Linked DNA regions of Homo sapiens: region 2 is linked to region 1. Evidence: promoter capture Hi-C in human tissues and cell types (Jung and others, 2019). All regions are on one chromosome and are shown on one strand. The core of a region is centred on a gene start or on the middle of the fragment in contact, and the rest is flanking DNA. Distances in the headings are between cores, read along the strand shown.

Evidence for each region. Contacts are between HindIII fragments. The study calls those that stand out against the background at their distance.
Region 2: a contact is called between a fragment that was not itself captured here and the fragment with the promoter of SIX4 in region 1, in 1 of the 25 tissues and cell types used here (dorsolateral prefrontal cortex).

Annotation. Positions count from the first base shown.
Region 1 is chr14:60,721,826-60,726,798 of GRCh38, forward strand. SIX4 (SIX homeobox 4) reads right to left here and starts at 2,526. Exons shown (of 3, transcript NM_017420.5): 1 at 1,387-2,526. The coding sequence starts at 2,249. RefSeq lists silencers at 591-660, 1,939-2,008. The HindIII fragment of the contact is 7,845 bases long and covers 1-3,868 here.
Region 2 is chr14:60,882,447-60,887,018 of GRCh38, forward strand. The region is part of intron 7 of MNAT1 (MNAT1 component of CDK activating kinase); the gene reads left to right. Among named protein-coding and RNA genes, the nearest start is that of TRMT5, 96 kb to the right of the region's middle. The HindIII fragment of the contact is 5,206 bases long and covers 1-4,168 here.

The DNA of each region.
Region 1 (4,973 bases), core at 1,276-3,775:
GTGGCTCGGCGTAACCAAAGCGCCTTCTCTGGACCTCTCCGCATATCTGCGGAAGGCGCACGCACATCCCGGTGCACCTTTTGTTTTGGTTACCGCGAGGGCCGGATAGGGCACCAAGCCTCCCTCCCAGCCTTGGGCGAGGAACGCCGGAGCCCGAGCCGTCGGACCCCCACAGGGGCCCAGAAGCGGCAAGGGCGGGCTGAGACCGGCTCTGGAATGCGCTGGTGATCACCTTCACCTGGCGCAGGCGGGCTGGATCCCCGGCTCCCAGTTTGCTTCCCCGAGAAGAACCTTCGAGCTGCTTTTGGATTCTTTCTCTCCTATCCCCGCGGGGCTGGAGACACCAGGTCTTTAGGCGACCTTCTCCTTACTTTGTTTCGTCCAACAAAACACACAGACGCACACACCAAGTGTCTGACTCGGGAGGACGCACAAAAGAGGTGGAAAATCCGGTATTTTTTTTACCAGAGGGGGAAAGCAGTCTGCCAGGCAAAAAGCTCAAACCCAGTGGGGTGGGAGCGCCCCCACTCCTTTGCTGCCGCCCGCCGTAAGCCGGCCTGCCCCCCACCCATAACTACCGTACCAGGAGGGAGCCAAGCAGCGTTCGGGGGCCGAGGGAGGAAGCAGCCCTTCAGCCCTGCTACCCCGGCTGCGCTGAAACCCGATCCTAAGGAGTTCAGAATCAGGTTTCAAAACATGACAGAGCCGAGCTGCACCAGCACCCCACGTTGCCGCGGCCGCTAAGGGAACCATAGGGGCAGGGTGAATGATTAACTCTGTCATATGAAACCTCGACGTTCCGAGACCCCTTCTGCGCCGCCAGTCCCACAACACTCTCTTCCCTTCACCAGAGCAGCCACCGCGACCTCCAGCGCAGGCCCGGGGGGCGGCTGAACCCTGGGGATCCGGGAGCGTGCGCGCGCGCCAGGCCCGGTGTGACCTCGCGGAGGTGCAGACCCCGGCCGGCGCCGGCAGTCTCTGCGGGCCTCGGGCGGCAGGGAGAGCTACGGTGCCGGTGTCCACATTTGCTTCGTTAGCCCCTCCAGAAACGGGGAGAGGGTGGCAACTTCAAAGCCAGCGGGATGGGGGTGGGAAGCTGGGCAGCAGTGACCAGCCGAGGTGGGGGCGGGGACTGAGACCTAGGCGGGCGACCAGAAACTTCTGGGGGGAGAGGGGGAGGGTAAGGAGGGAGGTTCCCCCGCCCCCCGCCTCCGCCGCCCCCTACCTCTGCCGGCCGGGGAGCGAGGTAGGGGGCGGGGAGAGGTGGGCAGCCGGACCAGGCTGGTGGGGAAGGTAAGCGCCATGTTTGCGAGCACTTGGAGGAAAAGAAAGCCGGGAAGGGGGTGGGGGAGAGGAAGGGGGAGGAGGAGGAAAGTTGGCGCTCACCTTTTGGACTGGGTCTCGGAGGGGTTCCTGTCGCGCTGCCGGCGGTTCTTGAACCAGTTGCTGACCTGGGTGAGGGAGAGGCCGGTGATCTTGGCCAGGTGCCGCTTCTCGGCGGGCGAAGGGTAGCGATTCTGCTTGTAGAGCTCCTTGAGCGCGTTGCGCGACTTCTCCTTGAAACAATACACCGTCTCCTCGCCGTCCCAGATGGTGCGGGGCAGGGGGAATTTCCTGCGCAGCCGGTACTTGTCTACGGCTCCCAGCGGCCGGCCGCGGGCTCGCTCGGCCTCGGTGTAGCGCGCCTTGTACCAGAGCTGCTGCAGCAGCGGGTGGTTGGCCGACTCGAAGCTGTGGCTCTCGAGGATGCTGTAGAGCTCGGGGTAGATGCCCTGGTGGAAGGCCACGAGCGCCCGCGCCTTCAGCAGGCTCTCGTTGCCACGTAGCAGGTCGCTCTGGGGCAGGGACCACAGGAACCGGGCCAGGCGGTCCAGGTTGCCCCCCTGCTGCAGTGCCTCGCACACGCAGGCGACGTGGTCGGGCGAGAAGGCCAGCGGGGTCTGCGCGGCGGCGGCGGCGGCGTGGTGGTGCCTGCCCAGAAGTTCCGAGTGGAGTTGTACCTGATCCGCCGCCGCTCCGGCCGCCGCCGCCGCCACTGCCCCTTCCTCTCCGCTCACCCTGGCGGCAGCGGTCGCGGCGTCCCCCGGCTCCAGGGGAAAAGGGGCTGGAGCCGGGGGGCTCAGCCCTACCGCCGCGCCCCCCGCCACTTCTCGGTGCGCCTCCTGCCCTTCCGAGGCGCTTTCCATCCCATTCTCTTGCTTGATGTCCGCCGCACTTGCGATCTGCCCGGTGGGGGAGGAAGAGGACATTTTTTGTTGTTTATTTTCCTCCCTCCCTCACTCCCTCGCACTCTTTTCCTCTTTCTTTCCTCCTCTCTTACTCCTCCTCCTTCGTCTCCCTCCCTCCTCTCCCCCTCCGGAAAGCCCACTCCCTCCCTCCTGGTTTCGGCTGTATCTGGCCGATCAGGTTTCCCCCCGGCCACGCAGTCACCATTAAGATAGCTGTTAGAGCAAAGTAGTGTAAACGGATAGCTGCTTTCTGCCGTTCCCCCAACGTGACTCCTCCGGTTGCTGCATACTATATGGCAGTGGCGGCCGGGCCGGCCCGGCCTAGCCACCTCATTGGCTATTTCGCATTCAGAGGGAGGAGGAGACACAGTTTCTATCCCTGTCGATCACCCGCCTCCCACTCCACCCCTCGCCTTTCCCTCCCCTCCTGACCCCCAGGCACCTATACCTGAAGGAAAACACCGACATTCTTTCCAAGCCACGCTCCTGGGCGGGAAATTACCTAATGTGGCCTGAAAACTGGACAACTCTTTCAAACAGAGGCCCTACAATTCCAGAGGGAATATTAATTGTGTGGCCTTAAGGTCTGGATGGTTAAATTTTTAACAAAGAGACCACCCTCAGCATCTAGATGACAAAACTTCAGAGGACAATTCAGAAGCCCCCCAGTATGTCCCTGTTCCCCATTCTCCCTCTTTTTGGATGTCTTTATCAAGGATTTTGTATTCAAAACGGTCAAAAATAAAATGACACTAGGAAATGTTCTAAGGGGCAAGCATTTACAGTAAATTAAAATTCCAAAGAGGGAAAAATGCTTGAAAACCTTATAATTAGCAGCATAAATAGCACACTGAGAAGACAAAAACAAGAAGCCTTCAAAAAATGTACTTAACCTTAAGCCACGTGGAGGGCTGGCAACCCAACTGAGTTGAACATGGTATAATTAAACATGTAGAATATTAAACCATAAGTTTATCCTGGATGAGTCGTGTGGAAGAGATCTAAGCTTTAAATATGGAAATTTAAGTTTTCTACATGAACTTTTTAATGTAAGTATATGAGTATTTCTTTTTTAACGATGATAGGCTAGAAACACTGAATGTGCGGGTGTCATCCAGATCAGTGCAGGATCAGAAGCCCTTTTCCACAGCATAGACAGATTGCCCTCTGGTTTGATGCTGAAGTGGGGGTAGAGTCTTTTGTTGTTTGCAGTTGTGTCTCTTTCCTTTGTAATTTGCACAAGATCTTAATTCCAAAAGGGATGATCCATTTCTGCTTCTTTGATTACTGTAGGTCAGTTGGGTTTGCCTGCTGCTGCTCTTTCTCAAAATTCAACTTTTTTTCCCCCCGAGATGGAGTCTCGCTCTGTCGCCCAGGCTGGAGTGCAGTGGTGTGATCTCGGCTCACTGCAAGCTCCGCCTCCTGGGTTCACGCCATTCTCCTGCCTCAGCCTCCCGAGTAGCTGGGACTACAGGCGCCCGCCACCACGCCCAGCTAATTTTTTTTTTTTTTTTTTTTTTGTATTTTTTAGTAGAGACGGGGTTTCACCACGTTAGCCAGGATGGTCTCGATCTCCTGACCTCGTGATCCGTCCGCCTCGGCCTCTCAAAATTCAACATTTTAATGACATCATCCTAACCTTTGCTTCAGGGTGGCCTTGTATTGTGTATGCTTCCCAGCTACTCATAGCTGCCTACTTCAGCATATTACAAAGCAGCTGTCTAGGTCACCTGCCGTCATGATAAACTTGGTGAGATTTTCTTTTTTTTTGTAGACAGGCTTTATTTTATTGCTGGTCAATCAAGATGTCATTTGATGTAGGATTTAACTTGTTTTTGCATTACCCTAATGTGTTGACATCGCTGGTAGATTTAAAATTTATAACAACAGAAAAGGCCATATTATTTATTTGCTTATTTATTTATTTATTTATTTATTTATTTTTTGAGATGGAGTCTCACTCTGTTGCCCGGGCTGGAGTGCAGTGGCGTGATCTTGGCTCACTGCAACCTCTGCCTCCCGGGTTCAAGCGATTCTCCTGCCTCAGTCTCCTGAGTAGCTGGCACTACAGGCGCGTGCCACCATGCCCGACTAATTTTTTATATTTTTAGTAGAGATGGGGTTTCATCGTGTTAGCCAGGATGGTCTCGATCTCCTGACCTCGTGATCCGCCCGCCTCGATCTCCCAAAGTGCTGGGATTACAGGCGTGAGCCACCGCGCCCGGCCAAGACCATGTGTTTCTACTCCACTGGAAACATCCAGTTAGGTACCAAGCTTCAGGACAATAACTGAGATTCAGAACTTCCTTGAATTTTTGTTTGCTTGTTTGTTTTTGTTTGAGACAGGGTCTCTCTCTGATGCCCAGGCTGAAGTGCAGTGGCATGATCTCAGCTCACTGCAACCTGCCCCTCCTGGTTTCAAGTGATTCTCCTGCATCAGCCTCCCGAGTAGCTGGGATTACAGGCACCTGCCAACCACACCCAGCTAATTTTTGTATTTTTAGTAGAGATGGGGTTTCACCATGTTGGCCAGGCTGGTCTTAAATTCCTGACCTCAAGTGATCCGCCCACCTCAGTCTCCCAGAGTGCTGGGATTAGAGGCATGAGCCACCACACCTGGCCAAATTTTTTTAAAAATATATTTTTTATTTGGAATGCTTTTCATTTACAGAAAAGTTACCAAAATAGTAGAGTTTCCACTTACCTTTCACCTAGTTCCCTTTAATTTTAACATCTTACATGATA
Region 2 (4,572 bases), core at 316-2,815, 160 kb after region 1:
TGTATATGTACCACATTTTCTTTATTCAGTCATCTGTTGATGGACATGTAGATTGCTTCCAAATCTTGGCTATTGTGAACAGTCCTGTAACAAACATGGGAGTGCAGATGTCATTTTGAAATACTAATTCCCTTTCTTTTGGGTATATACCCAGCAGTGGGATTGCTGGATCATATAGTAGCTCTATTTTTGTTTTTTGACAAACCTCGAAACTGTTCTCCATACTGGTTGTACTAATTTACATATCCACCAACAGTGTACAAGATTTTCTTTTTTCCACATCCTCTCCAGTACTCGTTACTGCTTGTCTTTGGATAAAAGCCATTTAAACTGGGATGAGATTCTATCTCATTGTAGTTTTGATTTGCATTTCTCTGATGATTACTGGTGATGTTGAGCATTTTTACATATGACTGTTTGCCATTTGTATATCTTCCTTTGAGAAATGTATGTTCAAATCTTTTGCCCATTTTTAAGTTGGATTATTACATTTTTTCCTGTTGAGTTGTTTGAGTTCCTTACATATTCTGGTTAATAATGCCTTGTCAGATGGGTAGTTTGAAAATATTTTCTCCCATTCTATAGGTTGTCTCTTTGTTCATCGATTTCTTCGCTTTGCAGAAGCTTTTTAACTTGATGTGGTCCTACTTACCTATTTTTGCTTTAGTTGCCTGTGCTTGTGGGGGTGTTCCTCAAAAATCTTTGCCCACTCCAATATCCTGGAGCGTTTCCCCAATGTTTAATTTTAGTAGGTTAAATAGTTTGAGGTCTTAGATTTAAGTGTTTCATCCTGATTTGATTTTTGTATGTGGTGAGAGTTAGGGGTCTAGTTTCATTCTTATGCATATGGATATCCAGTTTTCCCAGTACCATATTTTGAAGAGATTTTCTTTTCCCAAATGTATGGTCTTGGCACTTTTGTCAAAAATGAGTTCACTGTAGATGCATGGATTTGTTTTGAGATTCTCTATTTTGTTCCATTGGTCTCTGTGTCCATTTTTATGCCAGTACCATGCTATTTTAGTTACTATAGCTCTGTAGTATTTGAAGTCAGGTAATATAATTCCTGAAGTTTTATATCTTTAAAGTTTCTTTAAAGATAGCTTTGGCTATTCTGGGTCTTTTGTGATTCCATATAAATTTTAGGAATTTTTTAATTTCTGTGAAGAATGTCATTGGTATTTTGATAGAGATTGCATTTAATCTGTAGATTGCTTTGGGTACTATGGCCATTTTAACATTATTGATTCTTCCAATCCATGAACATGGAATATCTTTTGTGTGTGTGTGTCCTCTTCAATTTTTTGCGTCAGTATTTTATAGTTTTCATAGTAGAGATCTTTCACTTATTTGGTTAATTCCTAGGTATTTTATTCTAGCTATTGTAAATGGGATTACTTTCTTGATTTCTTTTTTAGATTGTTCACTCTTGGCATATAGAAATGCTGCTGATTTTTGTGTGCTGATTTTGTATTCTGCAACTTTACTCAATTTGTTTATCAGTTCTAATAGTTTTTTTGTGAAGTCTTTAGGTTTTTCCAAATATAAGATCATATCATCTGTAAACAAAAATAATTTGACTTACTCCTTTCTGCTTTGGATGTCCTTTATTTCTTTCTCCTGTCTGATTGCTCTAGCTAGGACTGCCAGTTCTGTGTTGAATAGCAGTGGTGATAGTGGGCATTCTTGCTGTATTCCAGATCTTAGAAGAAAGACTTTCAGTTTTCCCCCATTCAGTATACTAGCTGCAGGTCTGTTATATATGGCTTTCATTATGTTGAGGTAAATTCCTTTTATACCCAGGTTTTTGAGGGTTTTTACCATGAAAGAATGTTGAATTTTATTAAATGCTTACTCAGCATCAGTTGAAGTGATCATATGGTTTGGTCCTCACTCTGTTGATATGATATATCATATTGATTGATTTGCATATGTTGAACCATCCTTGTATTCCTGGGATAAATCACATGTGGTCATGATGAGTGAATGATCTTTTTAACATGTTGTTGAATTCAGCTTGCTAGTATTTTGTTGAGGCTTGCAAACACTATCTTATAACCCATTATTTTAAGCTGATGACAACTTAAGGTTGATAGCATAAACAAACAAACAAACAAATAAGCAAAATCAAAACTAGTAAAAACTCTACACTTTAACTTTGTCCCCTTGCTTTTTAACTTTTTGTTGTTCTATTTATATCTTATTGTACTACGTCTTGAAAAGTTGTAGTTATTATGTTTAATTGATTTATCTTTTAGTTTTCCTACTTAAGAGTAGTTTATCTACCATGATTACAGTGTGGGAATATTCTGTGTTTTTCTGTGTACTTACCATTACCAGTGAATTTTGTACCTTCAGGTGACTTCATATTGCTCATTAATGTTCTTTTCTTTCTAATTGAAGAACCCCCTTTAGCATTTCTTGTAAGACAGGTCTGGTGTTGATAAAAACCTTCAGCTTTTGTTTGTCCGGGAAAGTCTTTATTTGTTTCTCCTTCATGTTTGCAGAACATTTTCACCGGATATACTATTCTAGGGCAAAAGCTTTTTCCTTCATGCCAGTCTCTTCTGGCCTATAAGGTTTCCACTGAAGAGTTCGCTGCCAGACATATTGGACCTCCATTCTATGTTATTTGTATATTTTGTCTTTCTGCTTGTAGAATTCTTTATCCTTGACCTTTGGGAGTTTGAGTGTTAAATGCTTTGAGGTATTCTTTTTTGAGTTGAATCTGCTTGGTGTTCTGTAACCTTCTTGTACTTGAATAGTTGAATATTGATATATTTCTCTAGATTTGGGAAATGTTCTGTTATTCTCCTTATGAATAAACGTTCTACCCTCATCTCTCTCTCTGTCTCCTATTTAGGCCCCATAACTCTTAGATTTGCACTTTTGAGGCTATTTTCTAGATCTTTTAGGCATGCTTCATTGTTTTTTATTGTTAATTTTGTTTTGTTTTCTTTGACTGTATTTTCAAATAGCTTATATTCAAGTTCACTCTTCTGCTTAATCAATTCTGCTATTAAGAGACTCTGGTTTTTGTTTGTATTTTCTTGATGATTAGTGATGTTGAGCAGCTTTTCATACACCTTTTGGCCATTCATATGTTATCTTTGGGGAAATGACTATTCAGGTCCTTTGCCCATTTTTAAGTTGAGTTATTTGGTTTTGTTTGCCTTTGAGCTATTCAAGTTCTTTATATAATTTGGGTATTAACCCTTTATTGGATGTATAGTTTGTATAGTTTGCAAATATATTTTCCCAATGTGTAGGTTGGTTTTTCATTTTGTTGTTTATTTCCTTTGTTGTCTAGAGCTTTTTAGTTTGATGTAGCTCTATTTGTTTATTTTCAGTTTTGTTGCGTATTTGGTGTCTTATCCAGAAAACCATTGCCAAAGTTAACATCAAGGATCTTTCTCACTATGTTTTCTCTTAAGAATTTTATGGTTTCAGGTTTTATTTTTAAGTCTTTAGTCCATTTTGAGTTGATGTTTTTTAATATGGTGTATGATAAGGGCCAGTTTCATTCACTTGTATGTGTATAGTTCTCTCAGTGCCATTGACTAAAAATATTAGCCTTTTTCCATTGTATGTTTTCATGCCCTTATCAAAAATTAGTTGACTGCAGATGTTTGGGTTTATTTCTGGGCTCCCTATTCTGTTCCAATGTGTATATGTTTGTTTTTGTGTCAATACCATACTATAGCTTTGTAATATTATCTGATATCAGCAAATTTGGTGTTTCCAACTTTGTTCTTCCTTTTCAAGGCTGTTTTGTTTTTTGTGGGTATTTTGTGGTTTCATGTGAACTTTATAATTTTTTTCTGTTTGTATTGAAAATGCCATGAGAATGTTGATAGGGATTTTGTTGAATCTGTATACTGCTTTTGGTAGTATGGACATTTTAACAATATTCCTCTATTCTTACGGACATGGGATTTGTTGCCGTTTATTTATGTTGTCTTCAGTGTTTCATATTTTTCAGTGTGTACAGCTTTGACCTCCTTTGTTAAATTTGTTCTTAAGTATCTTAATCTTTTTGATTAATCTTTTGATTAGCCTTTGAAAAAGGCTAATGTAATGTTTTGATTACATTACATTAAAGGCTAATGTAATGTTTTGATTTTTTTCAGATATATCAATATTAGTATAAAGAAATATAGCTGATTTTTGCATGTCTGTTTTGATTACAAAAAAGCTAATGTAATGTTTTGATTTTTTTTTCAGATACTTCACTATTAGTATAAAGAAATATAGCTGATTTTTGCATGTCTGTTTTCTATCTTGCTACTTTATTGAATTCATTTTCTAATTCTAACTTTTTGGTCTAATCTTTATGATTTTGTACATATAGGATCATGTCATATGCAGAGAGGCATAATTTTACTTCTTGATTTCCTATTTGGATGTATTTTATTTTTCTTGTCTAATTGCTCTTTATAATACTTCCAATTCTATGTTGAATGTAATTGATGAAAGTGGACGTCCTTGTCTTGGGGTCAGGCAAAAACTGAAAACTTTTCCTCTGTTGATTATAATGTTAGGCATAGGCCTTTCATAAATGACCTCAATTTT